3 separate regions of the Homo sapiens genome follow, and regions 2 and 3 are each linked to region 1. The links are contacts of gene promoters, found by promoter capture Hi-C in human tissues and cell types (Jung and others, 2019). All regions are on one chromosome and are shown on one strand. Each heading gives the region's core, a stretch centred on a gene start or on the middle of the fragment in contact. The rest is flanking DNA. Distances are from core to core; before and after follow the strand shown.

Region 1 (4,565 bases), core at 1,301-3,800:
AATCATCATCTTATTCTCAACCAACAGTTTAAAGTCCTGTGATTCTCCTTATGTTAGCAGCATGCCTGGTAAGGCCCAGGGACAAGTTAAGTCCCACCATTAGTGTACCAAATCCCAGTACTTACATACTTACCTTGATGTGTATATGCTGCACACCAAGGTAAATTACAAATCAAACATATTCTGATTTTTGAAAACATACTTGAACTAATAGTCATTTTAAAGGCTTACTCTCTGGGTATAATTAAGCTTGAAATCATCCAAATATTATTATTTTCATAGCTGCAGCAAAGCAGCTGAATTTCACAGAGCTAACAATGCTGTCTCTGTGCTGAATACTTAATAAGCCAGAAATGAGGCAAAAGGTGAGCCCAATGAGCAAGCAGTATACTCAGTGATACACAGGACCTCCAGGTCAAAGGGTTATACCATGTTGAAAATCAAGGAAAAAGACATATTCTTTCAGAAATTTCTCTCTGCTTCAGTCCACCAACCTCTCATGGAATTTATTCTCTGTACCTGTGGGAGTCATTTCAGTGTTATGAACCAGCAATCAAGACACCTTATCTGGTCCAACAATGACAGCATCATCATCATCATCATTATCATCATTACAATCATACACAGTATTTACTATATATACACAAATCTCTTGACATAGATTATCTCATCTAATCCCCACCACAACTATCTGATGCAGATGTTATTATGCCTGTTTTATTTATTTTTTAGAATTTTTTATTTTATTTATTTCAATAGCTTTTGGGGGAGCAGGTGGTGTTTTGTTACCTGGATAAGTTCTTTAATGGTGATTTGTGGGTTTTGGTGCACCCATCATCTGAGCAGTGTACACTATACCCAATGTGTAGTCTTTTATGCATCACCCCCCACTCCAACACTTACCCCCAAGTCCCCAAAGTCCATTGTATCATTTTTATGCCTTTGTATTCTCATAGCCTAGCTCCAACTTATGAGTGAGAACATAGAATGTTCAGTTTTCCACTCCCAAGTTACTTCACTTAGGATAATGGTCTGCAACTCCATCCAGGTTGCTGTGAATGCCATTATTTCATCCCTTTTTATGGCTGAGTAGTATTCCATGGTATGTATATACCACGAATTATTTATCCACTCATTGATTGATGGGCATTTTGGCTGGTTTCATTTTTTGCAATTGCAAATTGTGCTGCTATAAACAAGTGTGTTCAAGTATCTTTTTTGTATAATGACTCCTTTTCCTCATTTTCAAGACAGCATCAGCTGCGGTAGTATAGGGAGAATGCAAGATTGCCCTAAGGTCTCCTGGATAAGTATTCGTGTTTCTCAGGCTAATAGTCAAAACTATTACAAAGTTCAGCTGGAAGTTTCCTTCTCCCTGTGGTCCTTCCTCAATTTCACTGGCAGCCCTCCTCAAGGACCCCTGTGAGATAAAGTCAGAAATGACTTCCCTGGGCACCAAGAGTACCTACAGGGCTCTTCCCACTGCTTCTACTTTTATATTTCGTTTTGCTCTCTAAATTCATCCCAGCTCTAGGTAAGGTTAAATCCTTCTCCTGTGATCTGGATTTTTAGGTTCCCTAGTGGGTTTGCGTGTTTGGAGGCAGATTTTTTCCCCCACTCACACTTTGGGCACTCACAGTTTTTCAGCTGTCTCATGGAGTTTGCAGCGGCAAGCCACTTCTTTCAAAGGTCCTGTGAATTCTTTTGGTTTTCCTGGTATGTTCATGCAGTACTTCTTGGAGGAAAATTTCACTGTGTGAGTCTCCACATGCTGTTCTGTCTGTCTGCGTGGAAACTGCAAGTTAGTCCTGCCTCCTATCCACCATTTTCCAACAATCTGTCGTTAACCATTTCAAAGTATAGAATTCAGTGGCATTTAGTACATTCATAATGCTGTGTAACCACAACCTCTATCCAGTTTCAAAACACTTTCATCACACCCAAAAGAAAACTCCATACTCATTAGCAATCCTTCCCCATTCCCTTCTTTCCCCAGCCCCTGGCAGCCACTCGATCATGCCTATTTTAAATTGAGGAAACTAAAGCTGAGAAAAGTTATACAATTTTTCCAACATGACTCTGATAATAGCTGGTGAACGCAATACTCGAACCCAGGACTTGTGATTCCCAAGATCAGACTCCTCCCATATACCTGTCTTTTATTTCCCAAGTGCTTGGGCAATCAGCTGCACTTAAAAAGCCTTTACAAATTGAGTTTACTAATGTGAGTAATATATGATTTTTTAAAAATAATAATTGTCCCTAAAGGTGAAATGGATCAAAGCCCTTAAAAGTGAATCTGTGGTGTAGTAACTGTTAACATAATTGTCTTATTTTATTCTCATCCCCTTAAAGAATAAAACTGATGAACAAGTGAGGATGCTGGTGTAACTCCCTAACTTAGTTTATAGTCTGTAAGCAGAAGAGTGAGTCTAAAGTACATATCACCAGACAGTGTTTCTCCTAGCATTTCGCTGTTGCATTAATCAACAAGTTAAAATATAAACAACGGCTAACCTTGGGTTTCAAATTTAACATTCCTTATCTCTTAGACCAGGTTTATCCACTGTGCTGGGGACTCCCAAGCCAGCACTGGCTCATACTGATTCATTTTGATCTCTGCTAATACCAGAGTCCTGCGTGGCAGAGCCATTGGCACCAGAAATTACAAGTACGTAAAGTAAGTAACCAGATATAATCTCTGATTTCTTTGGATGAGGAAAGTGGGGTCTGGAGTTTTCCTGTTTTGTTATTGTGCTCCAGGGAAGAACCACCTTATCAGAAAGCAGCTTTCTCTGTCCAACCCTGGAGGAGCTATAAAGCTACTCCTTGGCCCAAAGTATAGGAGTAGTAAATGTTTGGATACTTATAATGGGACAATATCATTGATTCAACCACTTAATAATCTACCCAGCAGTATACTTACCTGTCTTCCATGTACACAGGTAAGTATACTGTTGGGTAGATTATTAAGTGGTTGAATCAAATGGGAAAAACTTGGATTTCTAATGCAAGAGGAAAAGTCTCTTTTTTTTTTTAGTGCTTCCATCAGCAGCTTCTAACATTGTCTGAGATCATAGTTTTTGAAGGGTGACTACCAAATGTTGGCATTTGGCACAAGTGGGAAGCAAAAGGCAAGCCCCTTTAGAATTTGACTAATCTGTTCTGTCATGTCATCTTTTTTTCTGTTGTTAAAAGTGTTTCGTGCTTCATTCTATGTATTATGTCAAAATTTATTGATTTCCATGTGATTGGCACATCTTTTTTACTAATCCTGCTCCAGTTAAATTCACAAGATCATAAACATCAAGGGTTTGAAAATCATTTTTAGATATTCAGGTCTATGCCATCTGTTCTGCAGATGGAGAAACTGAGTCCTTGGTTATTAGAGTTTCCCCTGCATCCTAGGGAATCTGCTATGGCCTTGTAACTGGCACAGAGGACCTAAAGCCTGGGAGAATTTTTATTTGCTTGTTGTGGTTAGGAACATTTGAGTAAATGAGGAGCTGCTGCTAGAGGACAGAAATCCCAGAGTATGGCCCTCCTTGGACCCAAGTTTCTTACCAGCTGTGCTCCTTTGTTCCCAGGGGCTAAGTAGGCACCTTCACCCACCCCAACTGCCATCCAGCTGAATCTCTCTCTGATTACTCCTGAAATGTCACAACCCACTTGAGGATAGGGTATCATTGTGCAGTCTGTGCCAACCAGTATTCTGAAGTATTTTCATGCACTAAGGTGTAGGAGTGTGTGTGTGTGTGTATGTGTGTGTGTGAGAGAGAGAGACAGAGGGAGTAGGGAAGGAGGAGAAGATGGGGAATGCATAAATAGAGGGCTGGATACAAATCTGACAGTGCCAATGGCTTCCTAGTAAATGCATAGGTGAGTCACACTGGAAACAGTTAAACATTGGCTAATTGATACAATGCTAGCCTCAAATATAGTATAATATGCATTTTCTTGACATCAACAAATAAAATCTCCGGGTCAATAAAATAAACTCGGAAAATAAAACTCTTGCCCAGAAGTTTTCAACTTTCTAGGTTCAAGGAGCCCTTGGTGTGCAATTTCTTCAAGGTGCCCCCAGACCATAGTTTCTCCTATTAAGTAGACAAAAACTTAATAACTATTTATGTTCTAACAACTTTGTAGTTTTTTGAACAAGTAATATACAAACTAAAAGAAAAATAATATTTTTATTTCATTCTTAATCCCAATTACTTAATAATAAGGTTTATGTGCCTGCTGAGCACTGCACAACTTCTCAAACCTTGGAATCAGATCAGACATGAACCCTTCATTTCTATTCTACCTCAGTTTTCATGCAATACTTGCTTTTTGTCATAGCAATTGTCAAACACCCAGCTTTGCAAAGATATGATGTCAGCAAATGGAACACAGTCTTTTACAATATTAAAACTGTTAACTACTTTCAGCTAATACTTAGCATAGTGTTCAACTGACATCAAGAATCACTGTGCTTCTTCAAAATTTTAAAATAGCTCAGAGTGCCGCTGCAGTTTGGTAATGACAGGCGTCACCTCATGTTTTGACCTCTCATGATCTAC
Region 2 (4,472 bases), core at 1,807-4,306, 180 kb before region 1:
ACATAGCTCATAGCTTTATAGAGTTAAGAAAACCAACCGCTTCTATACATCAAGCAGAAGGCATTCCAAGTAGAAGATTAGGACATAAAACCAGTGCTACTGTAATACAAAAACATAAATTACCGGCCGGGCGCAGTGGCTCACACCTGTAATCCCAGCACTTTGGGAGGCTGAGGCGGGCAGATCACAAGGTCAGGAGATCAAGACCAACCTAGCTAACACAGTGAAACCACGTCTCTACTAAAAATACAAAAAATTAGCCAGGCGTGGTGGCAGGCGCCTGTAGTCCCAGCTACTCGGGAGGCTGAGGCAGGAGAATGGCGTGAACCCAGGAGGCAGAGCTTGCAGTGAGCCGAGATCACGCCACTGCACTCCAGACTGGGCGACAGAGCAAGACTCCATCTCAAAAAAAAAAAAAATACATTACTTTGATTCTGATCATTATTATACAACATATCTATATATCAAATCATAATGATATACATCTTGAATATATGCAGTCTTTATCAATTAAATATTTTAAAGTTAAAAATGCTTTCAAATGCTCTTCCATGTATACCTTTATCATCATATCTTATGGTAAAGGGATGGATTATTTAGCATCCAATATTTAATATAAACACATTAGAATAAAGTTCAGTCTTTTAAGGAGAAAAAGCAGGAAGCTGCTATGACAGATGGGATTAAGAGTACTGTCATTTTTTCAAATTTCTTTACAACATGAGCCTTCTAAAAAGCTAGCGCAAAAACTAGTATGTCGGTAAATAGGGATTTTCAGGTATGGAATGTGTCTTTACAAGATCCCTGGCTGTTGTTTCTTATGTGTAGATATGACTGGAAGCAAACAGATAGCAAGCATTCTAAATTTTGATTCCATACATTGGTCAAAGAAACGCCATACCTGACCTACAACAGTTGGCAATTGCTAAAATAATCTCAGAGAACCCAAATTCACACCAAAAGAAGTAAAATTTAACAGCTGAACAAACTCCTAGAAGTACCTCCTTCATACTCCCCAACTTGAAAAGGAAAGATTCAGGTCCACAGAGGACAATGGACAAGGGTGGTTCTTCCAGAAAACAGAACCAGGGGTTGCCAGGTTGCCCAACTAAATATTCACTCTGCTGCTGGGGCCCAGAGTTACCATCCCTGCCTGGCAGGATTTGACGATATCTATGAACCGGTGATCACCGTCTTCCCGTCTTCCTCTTTTCTGAATGGTAGTTTTTCCTGCATTTATCCTGTTTCTTCTCCGCCATTATATATAGAATGCGTTAAAGGTAGATAGCATTTTTTCTTCCTGCCTAGATGTAGTAGCACCATCAGAAAGAGAAGGAACCATCTTCTGACTACCCTGAGGAGGATAAAGACAAAGGAGCTTGAGCCCCATTGGCACATTAAAGCCATGCATTAGCCCTGCATTCCTAACACCAGAATTTCTTGTTATGTGAGAAAAATTACACTCCTTTTTTAAGCTGTTGGTTTTCATTTCTGTTACTTTCAGCCTAACGTAATTAGGCTGAAAACACCATACCATCTCTAACTGGTATGCTGTTGGTTTTCTGTACTCATAGCCAAATCCTTTACTATTAAAATACTATATTTCATCGGCTCAACATTAAGACGCACCCTCATTTTATGTAACAAAAAGAGAAGAAAACATTCTGCCAATTAAAACTATAATATAGCATTGATTATAAGATGTCGCTATTTCAGAGATGTTAAGATATGATTTGATTAAATAAATTAAGTAGAGTTACAATTTGAGCCCTTTGCTCAAAAATAAAATAAACATATATATTGGCATAGACAGAAAACTTTGGAAATATACACAAAAGCCATTAATAGTGATTGCCTTTGGGGAGTAAAAATGAAGGATATAGGATATAATACTTATTTTGACTTTTTGCTTTTTATTACATTATAAGCAACTTTTATGAGTAATCCAAGCCAGAAGTAAGCACTATGAAACGGGCATTCAATTTTGTCCACCACTGTAATCCTAAATTCAAGAACGATGCCTGTCATCTGGCACTCAAATATATGCTGATTCAATGAATGCTTTTAAACAAGTCACTGTCATTGAAAAGGAAATAAGAAGTCATCTGATTTCTCATCACTAATCGACGAGCTCTGTTGTAATAAGAGCTATGTCATATTTGTCACTGAATCTTCAGCACTTTGCACAAAACCCTGGAACTATATAAACATTTTCAAAATTTAAAAAGCATGTTATGACCGGGTGCTGTGTCTCACGCCTGTAATCCCAGCACTTTGGGAGGCCGAGACAGGTGGATCACAAGGTCAGGAGATCGAGACCATCCTGGCTAACATGGTGAAACCCCATCTCTACTAAAAATACAAAAAATTAGCCGGGTGTAGTGGCAGGCGCCTGTAGTCCCAGCTACTTGGGAGGCTGAGGCAGGAGAATGGCGTCAACCCGGGAGGCGGAGCTTGCAGTGAGCCCAGATCAGGCCACTGCACTCCAGCCTGGGAGACTGAGCGAGATTCCGTCTCAAAAAATAAATAAATAAATAAAAATAATAAAAGCATGTTATGCACAGGAATTTATATTACATATGTTGAGTGTGAAGTAGTGATTTGGAGTAGTCTCTTGACTTAATAAAAGTAGGCTATCAGGAAAAATTGGTTTGATGGCTATCTGCTGGAGGTTGCCAGCAGAAGAAAGGAGAGTGTAGTCAGGAAAGCCAGCTACACTGCCACTATGATATTGAAAGCAAGGTTGCATGAGGGCTTCTATCAAGACTGTGACAACAGGAATGACAGGTGGGACTTTGCATTTCCTTGGCATGTTGAACATTTCAAAATACAATATTATATCTATTACAAAAATCAACATCCCACTCTGTCCTCCAACACCCATAAGGACAGAGTAAGTTGCAAAAATTGAATCCTCAAATAATTAAATTACCGATATTCTCATTGGAGAGTTGTGATAAAATTAGCAATTTTGTCGTATGCTCTGTTTTCAGTAGACTCTTCTGATTCCTCCTCAATGTGTAAACAAAAAATAGAATTCCAAGTCCCCCAGTTGTCTTAATGGACCCCCTCTTGGCCAAGGGAACCCCGAAGAAACCTTAAAGACTTGTTCAAGCCATGATGGAAAGTGGAAGGTCAGACATGCCTCATTGTTCACTCCTCTCTTTGGAGTTTAGATGCAACTAACTAGCAAACTCAAGACTGACAAAACAGACTCCATAGCAATAAAACAATTCCAACCTGACTCTGATATACATGACAGATAACAGGCTCTGAAGGAAAATAAGTATTCTACTCCAAAATATATTTATTTGACAAATTCTGAAATGGCCCTGAAAATCTGTCTCTTGTGGGGAAGATTTGCATTCTGTAGAGAGTCTCTTTCCCTTACTGTTTTTTTTTTTTTTTTTTTTGAGAGTCTGACACCTTTTACGTTCTGATAAGAGACATTCGCCATCTATTCCCTCTGAAGCTTGCTACTTGGAGGCTTCATCTCTATGACAAGAACCTTGGTTACCACAAACCCTTTATCTAAACTCAAGCATTTCTTTATGCTGAGTTCAAGTCTTCATGTGGAGCTTAACTCTTCCACCCAATTGCCAATCAGAACAGCTCTGAATCCACCTATGACCTGGAAGCCCACCTCTCCCACCCATTCAAGATGTCCCACCTTTCCAGGCCAAACCAGTGTATACCTTACATGTATTGATTTATGTCTTTGCCTTTAATTCCTGTCTCCCTAAAATGTATACACCATGTTCTCAGGACCTCCTGAGGCTGTATCATTGGCCATGGTCCTTAACCTTGGCAAAATAAAATTCTAAATTGATTGAGTCCTGTCTCAGATACTTTTTGGTTTACAAATGGGACCTTCTCTGTACCTCTTCCTCTACCACCTTACAGTGACATCGAAATCAATCTAGTCAAACTGTGAATCTACACTTTGGAAAAAGAATGGTAAGAAATATTCCTTTTAGGCCAGGCACTGTGGCTCACACCTGTAATCCCAGCCCTCTGGGAGGCTGAGGCAGGTGGATCGCTTGAGCCCAGTTCAAGACCAACCTGGGAAACATGGTGAAACTCCTTCTCTACAAAAAATACAAAAATTAGCCAAGCATGGTGGCATGTGCCTGTGGTCCCATCTACTCAGGAAGCTGAGGTGGGAGGATCACCTAAGCCCGTGGTGGTTGAGACTGCAGTGAGCCATGATTTCACCACTGCACTCCAGCCTGGGCAACAGAGTAAAACGTTGTGGGAAAGAAAGAAAGAAAAAGAAAAGAAAAGAAAAAGAAAAAAGAAAGGGAGGAAAGGAAAGAAAAAAAAGGAAGGAAGGAAGGTGAGAAGGGAGGGAGGGAGGGAGGGACTCTTTTAGGAAGTTCTTAGTCAAAGAATGTAGAAACCACAGTTCTATAATATTAATATATTGGTTTGAATTGAATTGCTACTTAGAAATATATTTATGAGGCCAAGAG
Region 3 (3,922 bases), core at 1,311-3,810, 240 kb after region 1:
TCCATGTCCTCATCACCTTGTATGGTGGTTGGCGTATACCTAGAGTTTATATGTTATTGAATGAATGAGGGTGAGAAACACAAAAGAATAGACCCACAAGATTAACTGATAAGTATATTATTGGAGCAAAAGAAAATGCTGTCAGGTTTTTTTTCCTTTACCTCTAAGAATAGTATCACAGGTAACCTTCGAAGAGTTTGTGTTAAATAATATGCATTGTGAGATTTATTTACATCTGATTTTTAAAATTTTTAGCTTATTCAACAAAGATTGAAGATTCTTTTAATTTTGTAAGGCCCAGTGAATCAGAGCAATATGGCATTTGGTCCACTCCCAAGGTGTTCACAGCCTTAAGGATTAATGTTAAAAGTTATCTTGTAGTCTTTGGATTCATGCCAGAAGATAAAAAGGTGTATAAGAAGGTAAGGGAAATTTGGTACAGAAAATTACAGATAGTACAGATTGAGTTCCTAGTTGATTATAAGTGAAGCTGTGATGTCTAAGAAAAATCAAGAATAATTGTGATTATTAATATTTCTTGAGCACTTACTATGCCATGTTACTAAACTAAGACTATTTTTTGAATGATCTATTTAAATCCATATTGCAGAAAGCCTAAAAGGAAGAGATTTAAGTAATTTGCTCAAAGTTACTTAGCTTTTAAGTGGTAGAAATGGCATTTGAATTATTGATCCAGAGCCTGAGTGCCTAACTCAACTACATGGGTTTCCTAGTGGCCAGTATTTTCCAAACTTAAATCATTCACAATTTCTGCTTCGTCCCAAACCATCTGCCTGTTACTTAATATTTTTCTTCAATTCAACTTGCTGTCTTTTAATTAAATGAATTTAAACGAATTTTTTTTTTCTTTTTTTAGATGGAGTCTCACTCCGTTGCCCAGGCTGGAGTGCAGTGGCGCTATCTTGGCTCACTGCAACCTCTCCCTCCCGGGTTCAAGTGATTCTCCTACCTCAGCTTCCTGAGTAGCTGGGATTACAGGTGCCTGCCATCACGCCTGGCTAATTTTTGTATTTTTAGTAGAGATGGGGTTTCACCATGTTGTCAGACTGGTCTCGAACTCCTGACCTCGTGATCCGCCCACCTTGGCCTCCCAAAGTGCTGGGATTACAGGCGTGAGCCACTGCATCCTGCCGTTTAAAAGGAAATTTTTATGATTATTTGGCATTAGCTTCCCCCCAACATGTTTTAAAATAAACATGATTTTACATAATTTTCTGTGGATCACTTAAAATCATCCAGTATACTACCAGTCTTTGTATTCCACCCTTTGGGACATTACTGCTATAAGAAATGAATACTGGATAGGATCAGGCCACAGGTACAGTTAATGAAGGTCGAAAGCCTAGAATGGAATAGATTGATAAAATAGGAAATGGCAGCATTACAGGAATAGAGATATGAATTAGTCTTAACTACATACTTGAGACAACCACTTTCATGATAAACCGCAAAGGAGTAGGTTTATTTAGATAGAGAAATGTAATAGGATGTCTAGGACAGTCTATGGCAAGGGAAGAACAAGACAAAATAAGAAGGAAGTCACTATAGAAATCAGGGCAGAAGAGGATAATCTAAAAACAGGATTATTAGAGCTAAATGTAGCAGAGTTCAGAAAAATATGTGACAAGTAGTCTTTGGATTTGGCTGTGATATCCTTGGTGACCTTAAAATAATCTAGGTCAAGTTACAAAAGTGGAAGGTTAAAGGGGGAAGAGGGAAAATCTCTTGATTTTTAGATATATTGAATACTCAAAGTGGACTCTAGACTAATTGTTTTAAAACCTAGGTTTAGTCCTTTTTGTCACTTTGTGCCAGCTGTTAATTTTGGGGCAAGTTAACCTGGCTTAAGTTTTAAATATATTGATTTGTGATACAAGGATAATATCCATTTCCCCTATCTCAGAGGACTATTGCAAAGAGTACATTTATGTATTTCTATATATCTTCTGAATTTAATATTCTTTGATATTACACAATATCAAGACATGAGTCTTGACCATATTTAAAGCAGAAAAGAGAACCACGAAAAGGGAAAATTAAAGATAAAGGGGAAGATACGTTCCCTATAAGGTTGGAAGATCCCTTCTGAATAAATCTTGAGTCTGAAGGATAAGAGATGGATACATGTATGTGGTTGGAGAATGGGTATCTAGATAAGTTAATAATTCATTTTTTCTTCCCTGTTTGCCAGTGAACAATCTGAAGGTACAGGGCTGCTATATATGGTTATGCAGCTTGTATACTGCCCAAAGATGCTGGACTGAAGGAAGCAACAAGTCAGCCTGTGTTCTGCTTACAGAGTCCTGTGCCCCAGCTTAGGCCTCGCAGAGGGAACTGTGCCTCCACTTCTCTCTCCAAGGCATCAGCTCCTTGCCAAAAGTGTCTGTATTTCCCCAGAAGGATGTATTTTTCCTAGTTACATAAAGGCCCTATGGAGAGCAATGGATGCTCTGAAAGACTCCTTAAGGAGACATATTAAGGATACATTTAGAACAACATCAAAAACAATTGGGAAATTGGAGAAATGGTCACTAAGGAACAAAAAGCTTTGAACTTTTTGCTGAGATGGGTTAGGTGGTTGGGCAAGTACAGAATTCTCATTTATCCAGTGTACTTTAAAGATCTGTATTGTAGCTTATTAAATATTTTTATTAATCAAGAAACTATATTAAATATCATAGTTTATCATATTTCAAAGAAGAGTGATAAGAGTAAAACAATACTTAACACAATTTAATCTTACCCAAAAACTTTGTAATTTTGGGGTTTAAATTAAAATTTAGATTTTTGGTCATGTGGCTGGTAGTTTTATATATAAGTAACTTTTTAATGTTAGGTTTTATAATTAAAGCTATATAAATTTTATAGCTCTTAATTGAAGAAGCACAATAGGGAAGGTACACAGTTACTTCTGAAGGTTAGGAAAATGGAACAGTGGCATTTTATTTTGAAAACAGAGGACATTGAAAACAAAGGAGGCTTTAGACAGGTGAATTTTAAGTTTATATTTGGAAATTTGATTTGTGGTGTACAGTTCTTTAAGTTTTAGTACGTATGGATTTTTGTAGCCCCCACAACTAGGATACAGAATGTAGAAAGATAAAACATCTCCCAACTGTAGAACTAGAGTCTTCTGGCATTTTGGAGACAGGGAAATTCTCTTGAAGAAATAACTATTAAAGAGGGATGGAAAAAGCCAAGAATGGCCTACCCATGCTGAATGATTTGTTTTCTGATTAGAAAGAAAAAATATTTTGATTATACTGTTATATTTATGACAAACTTGAACATAGAAAGAATGAAAGTAGGAGAAAGAAAAAGAAGGAGTTGGGTGTTGTGGCATGTGCCTGTGGTCTTAGCTACTTGGAAGGCTGAGGTGGAAGGATCTCTTGAGCCCAGGAGTTGTGGAGGGTAGCGCACTGTGTTCTACATATGGACTGAGTGTCTGCACTAAATTCAGCATCAATAGGGTGTCCTGGGAGTGGGGGACTAACAGGTTGCCTGAGGAGGGGTGAACTGGTCCAGGTTGGCAACAGAGCAGGTTAAAACTCCCATGCTGATCAGTAGTGGGATAGCCATTGCACTCCGGCCTGGACAACATTAAGGTGACCCTGTTTCTTATTAAAAGCAAGAGGGTAGGGGAATTTTTTTAATTTTATTTATTTATTTATTTATTTATTTATTTAGAGACAGAGTCTCTCTCTGTCGCCCAGGCTGGAGGCAGTGGTGCGATCTTGGCTCACTGCAACCTCTGCCTCCCAGGTTCAAGCAATTCTTCTGCCTCAGCAGCCCGAGTAGCTGGGATTACAGGTGTGTACCAGCACACCTGGCTAATCTTTGTATTTTTAGTAGAGATGGGGTTTCACCGTGTTGGCCAGGCTGGTCCTGAACTGACCTCAAA

What was found. Contacts are between HindIII fragments. The study calls those that stand out against the background at their distance.
Region 2: a fragment that was not itself captured here is called in contact with the fragment with the promoter of FMO1 in region 1 in 1 of the 25 tissues and cell types used here (bladder).
Region 3: a contact is called between a fragment that was not itself captured here and the fragment with the promoter of FMO1 in region 1, in 1 of the 25 tissues and cell types used here (thymus).

What each region holds. Positions count from the first base shown.
Region 1 is chr1:171,245,944-171,250,508 of GRCh38, forward strand. It overlaps FMO1 (flavin containing dimethylaniline monoxygenase 1), which reads left to right and starts at 2,551. Exons shown (of 9, transcript NM_001282693.2): 1 at 2,551-2,680. It overlaps FMO1-AS1 (FMO1 antisense RNA 1), which reads right to left. Exons shown (of 5, transcript XR_922278.4): 2 at 1,638-1,784. The HindIII fragment of the contact is 7,695 bases long and covers 1-4,565 here.
Region 2 is chr1:171,069,887-171,074,358 of GRCh38, forward strand. No RefSeq gene overlaps it. Among named protein-coding and RNA genes, the nearest start is that of FMO3, 19 kb to the right of the region's middle. The HindIII fragment of the contact is 4,905 bases long and covers 605-4,472 here.
Region 3 is chr1:171,489,064-171,492,985 of GRCh38, forward strand. The region is part of intron 1 of PRRC2C (proline rich coiled-coil 2C); the gene reads left to right. It also overlaps the pseudogene RN7SL425P. Among named protein-coding and RNA genes, the nearest start is that of PRRC2C, 5.5 kb to the left of the region's middle. The HindIII fragment of the contact is 3,277 bases long and covers 923-3,922 here.